3 separate regions of the Homo sapiens genome follow, and regions 1 and 2 are each linked to region 3. Evidence: promoter capture Hi-C in human tissues and cell types (Jung and others, 2019). All regions are on one chromosome and are shown on one strand. Each heading gives the region's core, a stretch centred on a gene start or on the middle of the fragment in contact. The rest is flanking DNA. Distances are from core to core; before and after follow the strand shown.

What was found. The method cuts DNA at HindIII sites, captures the fragments that hold promoters and counts their contacts. A contact is called where the count stands out against the background at its distance.
Region 1: a contact is called between a fragment that was not itself captured here and the fragment with the promoter of CLCA2 in region 3, in 2 of the 25 tissues and cell types used here (lymphoblastoid cells and spleen).
Region 2: a contact is called between a fragment that was not itself captured here and the fragment with the promoter of CLCA2 in region 3, in 1 of the 25 tissues and cell types used here (mesenchymal stem cells).

What each region holds. Positions count from the first base shown.
Region 1 is chr1:86,472,872-86,476,206 of GRCh38, forward strand. CLCA1 (chloride channel accessory 1) reads left to right here. Exons shown (of 14, transcript NM_001285.4): 2 at 546-686; 3 at 858-1,005. LOC124904210 (a long non-coding RNA gene) reads right to left here. Exons shown (of 3, transcript XR_007066206.1): 3 at 3,025-3,094. Among named protein-coding and RNA genes, the nearest start is that of CLCA1, 5.6 kb to the left of the region's middle. The HindIII fragment of the contact is 5,369 bases long and covers 1-3,335 here.
Region 2 is chr1:86,374,890-86,377,947 of GRCh38, forward strand. ODF2L (outer dense fiber of sperm tails 2 like) reads right to left here. Exons shown (of 17, transcript NM_001366781.1): 8 at 1,344-1,529. Among named protein-coding and RNA genes, the nearest start is that of MIR7856, 19 kb to the left of the region's middle. The HindIII fragment of the contact is 4,978 bases long and covers 1-3,058 here.
Region 3 is chr1:86,422,761-86,425,740 of GRCh38, forward strand. It overlaps CLCA2 (chloride channel accessory 2), which reads left to right and starts at 1,411. Exons shown (of 14, transcript NM_006536.7): 1 at 1,411-1,673; 2 at 2,579-2,716. The coding sequence starts at 1,488. The HindIII fragment of the contact is 8,393 bases long and covers 1-2,980 here.

The DNA.
Region 1 (3,335 bases), core at 336-2,835, 50 kb after region 3:
CAGGTGTTAAAATCACATTCACTTTTTCTCTTCATTACTACTTGCTGTGAGACCTTGAGAATTATACTAAGTCTCAGTTTCACCCTCAAAGATTTGTGGATTCTCAAAGAAGCAAGTGAAACGCATAGCTAATATTTTATACTTGCTTGTGCGAAGTAAACACTGTTCCTAGCACATCATATGTTTCACTTTGTTCCTCACCACAACCTTATCAGCCAGTCACTATAATATAATATTCCATTTTGTTAATGGGAAAACTGAGGCTCAGAATTAGAAATTGCCGAATGTCCCACAAAAAGTGGTGCAGCCAGGATTAGAGTCTGTCTCCAGAGTCTGCATTGTTACTGATTACTCGGTGACACAGAATATTTGGTAAATGCTCTCAAAGCTTAGCTATTATTATTAAAAGGTATTTCTATATTTCTTCTTCCCATCTTAACAAATAACAAGTTTTTGAAAATGTGAAATCCAGATGTGAATTTGAATGACTGATAATTTAATTTATTTTCAGTCAATTGTTACGTATGTTTTCTTTTTCTTCCCAGGACATGGTGACCCAGGCATCTCTGTATCTGCTTGAAGCTACAGGAAAGCGATTTTATTTCAAAAATGTTGCCATTTTGATTCCTGAAACATGGAAGACAAAGGCTGACTATGTGAGACCAAAACTTGAGACCTACAAAAATGTGAGAATATCAAGTTCTTCTTTAAAATTCCACTTTCTCCTGTAACCAAGATTTTTTAAAATCAAAATATTCTAGAATCAAATGTGATTGTTTGAAACTTACTCCAGTACGAATATGGTTAATTCATTTGCTGAAACTTTGTGATGATAGAAACTTTTTCTTAAATTTCAGGCTGATGTTCTGGTTGCTGAGTCTACTCCTCCAGGTAATGATGAACCCTACACTGAGCAGATGGGCAACTGTGGAGAGAAGGGTGAAAGGATCCACCTCACTCCTGATTTCATTGCAGGAAAAAAGTTAGCTGAATATGGACCACAAGGTATGAAATATTCTACCATACTTCTCATACAATTTAACTATTTTATGTTCAAAGTGTATCAACACTAGCATTATCTTTGTGAGTAAGCATGTATAAGCCAAACAATTAGAGATAAAACATCATAGCATTTTTCACTTAAAATAGAACATGCATTTCACTTAGAATTTCCAGCATTTCTCAGCTATGAATTTAATTTACTTTAGATACATGTATAAATACGGTATTTTGAATTCTCGTAAATTATTATTATAGCATCATACTATAACTGTAAAAGAATTTAATTTGTATTAAGTTTCTATGGATATGTAAGGAGACAACGGAATTAAATCTTCTACCTGCAATTCATACAATAGCCACCAGATGGCGTATATGTGCAGTGCTCTCAGACGTGCATTCAAATTATATATGAATCTTGTTAAAATGTGGATTCTCCTTTAGGAGGCCGAGGCGGGCGGATCACGAGGTCAGGAGATCAAGACCATCCTGGCTAACACAGTGAAACCCCGTCTCTACTAAAAATACAAAAAATTAGCCGGGCGTGGTGGCGGACGCCTGTAGTCCCAGCTATTTGGGAGGCTGAGGCAGGAGAATGGCGTGAACCCGGGAGGCGGAGGTTGTAGTGAGCCAAGATCGCGCCACTGCACTCCAGCCTGGGCGACAGAGCGAGACTCCGTATCAAAAAAAAAAAAAGGGGGGGGATTCTCATTCATTAGGTGTGGGATGGGACTCAAGAATCTGCATTTTTAACAAGCTCACAGGAGATGTTGATTCTACCGGTCTGTGGATCACACTTTGAGTAGCAGACAGAATACCTTTGCAATTCATCTCTCAAAAACATGTAACTAAAGAAAAAACTCCAATGATAAATAAACTTTATCATTTGTATATGAGGTACATATAACAATTATTGGAGGAAATATTAAACAAGTAATGACATATATATAAAATGTACTTTCCAAGAATCAAATGTGACTCTTTACTAAATAACTAGCATTAGATTTCTTTACCTCAAAAAAGATTTGGATCCCCTAGAACCAGCTTGATTTTTTTTAACATATAAGGCACAGAAAACAAGCAAACAAAAGAACGCTATCCAAGCCCCATCCCCAAACACACTAGAGCGCTTAAAGACCTGGTCAAAAGGATGTGTCAAGCGTACCTCTTTGTTGTTCTACAACACATTTCACCTCCATAACAGGAACAGAACATTCTCAATGTATGACTCAACAAATAAGTGTTGAATTGATTGACCTGACTGCCTCATCCCACTCCTGAGCCCACTCCAGCCATCATGATCATATATAAAACCATTCCTTAATAGTGTTTCCTTTCTGTATTGTGACTCCACTCCAACTCTCTCACAATCATCTTTAAAGAGACCACCAATACCTACAGAATAAAGTCCCAATCCTTAGTGTGGGATACTGAGTTTCCACAGAATGCCCCACCTCACATAACCCTCCAAATTCAGCCTTCCTTGGAATTTACATTCCAGAAAAACTGAGCTGTACATAAGTCATTCACTCAAGTTTAACAAATATCACTGAATGCCTGCTAAGTTCTAGACACTATGTGCCCAGATATGACAGTGAAGAAGTCATATTGTCTGTCCTCATGGAGACAATTTTCTATTGTGGGAGACTGGCAAGTAAGTAGCAATGACTGTTTATCATTGTAAGTGCCTAATGGGAGATGGTGAAATGCAAACGCGGAGTACTGGGCCTAAGATGAGGATTTCAGGGCAGGCTTCTAGGCACATAGAAGCTTGATTTTCAAAGAAGAATAAGAGTTATCCAGACAAAGATGGGAAGGAAGTATTCCAAGCTAAGGAAACATAGGTAAAAAAAGACCAGAGTTGAACAAGAGCATGATATGACCTAGGAAAAAAAGGAGTTCAGGAATTCATCCTAATTCTAGAGTTTGGGAAGGGAGTGGAGAACAGCAAGAAATAAGGCTGCAGAGAAGAGCAGGCCTGAGGCATCAGGGACCTTGTACACCATGTTGAGAAGTTGGACTTACCCTGAAGGATGGAGACATGGAGGCCAATCTGGTGACTATTGCAGCAATTCAGGAGTAAGTGGCAATGGGCCTGGAAAGGTGAGAATGAATAAAAAAGACAGAGATGGAGTAAGCAGACCTTGAGGTCTGATGGGATAGGAGCCATGAGGGAGGAGAATTGGTTGAGGATGCTGCCCTGGCTGCTGTAGGAATGCCTGGGCTCCCATAGCCGCCTTTGCTGACCTCTGTCATCATACCTGTACCACCAGGCATTTTAGCTTCTAATCACACATGCCCTCCACTACACCAGGAGCTATGTGAGGATAGGGCAG
Region 2 (3,058 bases), core at 521-3,020, 48 kb before region 3:
TTAAGGTACTGTTTTAAATAATGGTACCCTTACCTTAGGTGAATAGGATAGCAAGCTCCTGCCTTCTGAGACTTATACTCAAGTAGAAGGAAACAGTTAAAAATAAAACAAAACACAACAGCAGTGATAAATGAAAAAATAAATGATATAGTTTCAGATTATAGTGAATGCTATGAAAAAAATTAAGACATTGATATGATTGTTTTAGAACTACTTCAAAAGAAATGGTCAAGAAAGGCCTCTCTGAAGAGATGTCAATTGAAAAGATACCTGAATGATTAAAAAAAGAAAGAGCTATTGTGAGCCAGGGAAGAATATTAAAGCCAGATGCAACAACAAACAAGAAAAACAACAAAACAAAGAAAAAAACTTCATGCATTACAGCAACAGAAAGGAGGACAATGCAAAAATATATTTTCTCATTTATCTCTCCCTACAAACACATGAGATAGGGAGTATTATGATGCCCTATTTTATACATGAGGAAATTGAAGAGGTTAAGTTCCTTATCCCAAGTCACAAGGTTAACAAAATACTACTTTGTTTGCCATAAACTTTTTATACAAGTCTGTTTTCATTTCTAAAAGCCTCTAATAATTCTATAAGCCTTAACATAAGTTCTTAAGAGGCAGGATATCAGTGAGACTTTTTTAAAAAAATTATTAATTAGTAATTGAATAAATATAATAATTTATCAAAAACAACAAAGCACTAAGGCCATTTTCAAATTTGTACTATACCAAAGATATATTTTACTTGGTGTGTTTATGTCAGCACATGGTTTTAAATGTATTACAGAGATTAAATTAGGTTAATTACTGAATAAAGTCATAGGGTCTAATAACATAAATCAGCATTTCTCAAACTAGTGTTCCTCAGAACCAGTTCCAAGAGTTGCTTTGTGCATAAAAGACTAGCTCTGTGGTTAAAAAAGTGTGGGAAACTCTTAGTTCAATACCCTTCATTCCACTGTTTCTGAAAGCCTTCTCAGAACCTTTAATTTGCTAACATAGACCACAATGTCCCAAGGGGAAATATGTATGAAGTATTACCCTTAGTTAGTTGGCCAATAGAACCTTTTTTTGTGTGTGGAGGCGGGGGGGACACACTTAATATTTCCTTTAAGTAAAGTTCCCAAGGAAATGCTGATATATTTCAATATGAAAATTTGACATTTTATGTAATATTTCAAAGTAAAAGATTAAAGCAAAAAGTGTAAGTTTTTTCTGGTATTAACAGCATTAAGAAAAGAATAAAATTACTATATTAAGCATCATGATATTAATTATATAAACTACGTACATAATAGATCTTTTAATTTTAAAAAGAATGCATTTACATACCTGATCTCTAATTTGGGAAGTAAGCTTTTCAATAGCTCCTGTAAAATGGTCAAGCCTTTGTTTGTAAACTTTAGATGCCTTTTTTAAAGCTACAGTTTTTTGCCTACTTGCTTCTTTCATCACTATAGCCTCATTCTTATTCATTCTTGATTGCAGGTTCCACTTGGCTATCTTGGTTTCTAAGCTCTAAAAAAAAAATTAGCAACAATTAAATTATTTCAGAACTCCAATGTTTATGTAAACATTGTAAAAATATGTACATAACTGATATGGTTTGTGTATTACTCCATTCTCACACTGCCATAAAGAAATACCCTAGACTGAGTAATTTATAAAGGAAAGAAGTTTAATTGACTCACAGTTCCACACGGCTGGGAAGATCTCAGGAAACTTACAATCATTGTAGAAGGCAGAGGAAGAAAGGACCTTCTTCACATGGCGACAGGAGACAGAAGAGTGAGGAGCAAAGGGGGAAGAGCCCCTTATAAAACCATCAGGTCTCACGAGAACTCACTCATTATCATGAGAACAGCATGGGGAAAACCACCCCCATGATCCAATCACCTCCCACCAGGTCTCTCCCTAGACATGTGGAGATTATAAGGATTACAATTCAAAATGAGATTTGGGTGGGGCAGAGCCAAACCATAGCATTCTGCCCCTTGCCCCTCCTAAATCTCATGTCTTCACATTTCAAAACACAATCATGCCTTTCCAACAGTCCTCCAAAGTCTTACTTCATTCCAGCATTAACCCAAAAGCCCAAGTCTAAAGTTTCATCTGAGACAAGGCAAGTCCCTTCTGCCTAGGAGCCAGTAAAATAAAAAGCAAGTTAATTACTTCCAAGAAACAATGGGGGCACAGGTATTAGGTAAATGTTCCCATTCCAAATGAAATAAATTGGCCAAAAAAAAGGGGGCTACAGGACCCATGCAAGTCCAAAATCCAGCAGGGCAGTCATTAAATCTTAAATCTCCTAAATAATCTCCCTTGACTCCATGTTTCACATCTAGGTCATGCTGATGCAAGGAGTGGGCTCCCACGGTCTTTGGCAGCTCCAGCCTTATGGCCTGCAGGGTACAGCCCCCTTCCTAGCTGCTTTCCCAGGCTGGCACTGAGTATCTGTGGCTCTTCCAGGCACATGGTGCAAGCTGTCAATGCATCTACCATTCTGGGGTCTGGAGGACTTGTGGCCCTCTTCTCACAGCTCCACTAGGCAGTGCTCCAATGGGACTCTATGTGGGGTCTCCAACCCCATATTTCTCTTCCACACTGCCCCAGCAGAGGTTCCCCATAAGGGCTCCACCCCCGCAGCAAACTTCTGCCTGGACATCCAGGCACTTCCACACATCCCCTGAAATCTAGGCAGAGGTTCCCAAGCCTCAATTCTTGACTTGTGTGCACCCACAGGCCCAACACCACATGGAAGTTGCCAAGGCTTGGGGCATCCACCCTCTGAAGAAATGGCCTGAGCTATGCATTGGCCCCTTTTAGCCACAACTAGAATGCAGGGCACCAAGTCCCAAGACTGTACAAAGCAGCAAGGCTCTGGGCCCAGCCCACAAAACCACTTTTTCCTCCTAGGCCTCTGGGCCAGTGATGGGAGGGACTGCCATGAAGACCTCTGACATACCCCAGAAACATTTTCCCCATTAATATTCGGCTTCTCATTATTTATGCCAATTTATGCAGACCACTTGAATTTCTCCCCAGAA
Region 3 (2,980 bases), core at 161-2,660:
CTGTCAACATTGCAGTGCAATATCAAAGCCCAAGTTCAGAAGACTCCAACCTTGCTGGGAAGAAGAGTGACATCACACTGCCCATGAAGATGTTGAAAACAGACAATGTTGGTGAAATCCCTGTTGAGAGCAGGGACAGACCGTTTCCTAAATGCTACACTCCCCTCCCCAGAAATGTTCCGAGACGGGGCCACAGCAGGGAAGAGTCACAGGTTTTGCTTGCTGTGGACCTCTGACGCTGTGAATAAAACTTTTTCTTTAGTTTTACAATAGATGTCACTGTGCGGCATTCTTAAACACAAAGAAGAGGGAGAAACGAGGTTACTAAGATAATTTAGTAACTAAGAGAGAACATGATATATTGAAAAACAGTGGAATTTGGAGTCAGTTGGTTCATTCTAGTACGATGATAATACTCCCAACCTTGAACAAGTTACTTAGATTTTTTTGAACATTAGTTCTGTCACCCATAAAATAGGCATAATAAAATCCATCACTCAAAAAATGTTAGTTTCTTCTCTCATTGGCTAATTTTCATAATCAGAATTTCCAAGACTCATTATTTTCATTTGAAAAGTACAAATTATACCTGCATCAGAGTATTGATATTTAAATGAGTTCATTTGTAAACTTTAAAGCATGAGGTAAATATCAGGTATTATGAATCAGTCATAAAATATTTGCGATGGTTACTATATATTAGATCCTGTTTTTGGTCCTGGAGAAATGGAGGGTTGACTGAAGCAGGGCCTTGCCCTTAGGAGAGAGCTGAAGGAGAAATCTATTCTTCTTCCTGAGGCAGAGAGAAAAGGTAGCAAGGCCAGAGGGAAAGGGCTGCACAGGCACCCAAGTTCCTGGCAGTTGGCCCTCTCTGGGGGATATCTGATATCTGACCTCCAGCCATCAGCTGAGAGCTTGCCCAGACTATCTGACCCAAGGGCTGTAGGGACTGGGCTGCAGAATGGATTTCTAAATCTTCAAAATAAACAGGCAAGGAAATCTTGCAACAAATGAAAAATGACTTGAGGGCAGTAGAAAGTACTTGTGCCAACTGATGGAGGAGGTTATGAAAAATGAGGAGAGGAAAATCACTATAGACTTCTGTGTTTCTACTGCAAGTGGATTGAACAGTCCAGATATACTGATTTCCAGCCCATATTTCCTGCTTTTAAGCTCCTTTGGTCTTATTTCCCTCTTCTTTCTGAAAAGTTATAAAATGAATGAAGGGCAGAATGTTTCTTGCCCAACCATGATTCAGGAGGCAGCTCAGCCACAGAACAGGCAAGTGTAGCATTGCCTGGAGGAAAAGGACTTGTAGAGGCAGGTCCCAGATGGATCCACCCCAGACTTTTCAAAGAAGACACCTCCTTCATCTTGTGTTCTAAAACCTTGCAAGTTCAGGAAGAAACCATCTGCATCCATATTGAAAACCTGACACAATGTATGCAGCAGGCTCAGTGTGAGTGAACTGGAGGCTTCTCTACAACATGACCCAAAGGAGCATTGCAGGTCCTATTTGCAACCTGAAGTTTGTGACTCTCCTGGTTGCCTTAAGTTCAGAACTCCCATTCCTGGGAGCTGGAGTACAGCTTCAAGACAATGGGTATAATGGATTGCTCATTGCAATTAATCCTCAGGTACCTGAGAATCAGAACCTCATCTCAAACATTAAGGTGAGTGGAAATTATGAAATTGATACTAGCATCCCATTTGATCAGACCTGTAGCCTTATTTAGAAGCTAACTACCCTGCCTGGTTTGTATTTGAGTAATACAGAGAACAGCATTTTTAAAAGATAGCGCCACAACGTTATGATTATGGCTAACTAAGCCAGTTTGTTCATCTAATTCTGTGTAGTCTCAGCTCACAGAGTGTTGATCTAGCCCTCTATTTTGTTATTGTTGGTTGCTACTAATTTCAGCTCTTTTGTTTTCCTACATGACTGTTTTTGGGGTAGCAACTTAGAAAAATAACAACCCATTGTGGCAACAAAGATTGAATATTTAACTGATGAATAAGCATGATAATGAGCATGCTTGTTAAAATCATATTGCTAGATTCCATCCTGAGGGTGAGAATTCTCAGGCAGAAAGGGTGAGAGTCTGCACGGTGGGCCAAAAAGCAAAATTATTTCTTTTCACTTGAATGTGCTGTAACATAATTGACTATTTTTACTTTAATATGGCAAGGGAGGATCATAGCTCTATGATGTAAGAGCCTCCATTTAGTATTGCTTTAGTGAAATCAGTAGCATCATAAGGTGTGGTCTTGAATGTGCCCACAGGTGTGACATGAAAAGGATTTGTTCCACAAAAGCTTAAAAGCCTTTCTCAAAATTGGGAAAACTATGAAGGCAAGCACAGACATATAATTAGTGTCCTAAAATCTTCCATATAATCATTTAAAGTTTTTTTAAAAATTTGCTCCTATGTTTTCCCAAAGTCTAGGGCTTTCTCTAAAAGAAATGGGTCTCTTCAAAATATTTCATTGTCTTTTATTACTGTTTAAGCATACCAGAAAACCAAAACATACAGGATTTACAAGTGGTAAAGTAAGTTTTTCTTTTGTCTGGCTGTAGGAAATGATAACTGAAGCTTCATTTTACCTATTTAATGCTACCAAGAGAAGAGTATTTTTCAGAAATATAAAGATTTTAATACCTGCCACATGGAAAGCTAATAATAACAGCAAAATAAAACAAGAATCATATGAAAAGGTAAGAATCCAGGATTTCATTCAATGATCTCAAGGGGAAAAAAAACACCAAAATATACTGTGCTCAAACGATAAAAGTGAGAAGTTAAGTAAAAACAAATCATCAGTATTAACAATGCAAATAATATTAATGGGCAGAATGTTATCAACAAAATATATGAGAATAAATGAATGCAAATTGTGCAGTAAAAAATGAGTCAAATGCCATAGCCTAAGTAGTTTCTCAGAAGATCTCTTTATTTTGTAACTTATGGAGTACTTTCTG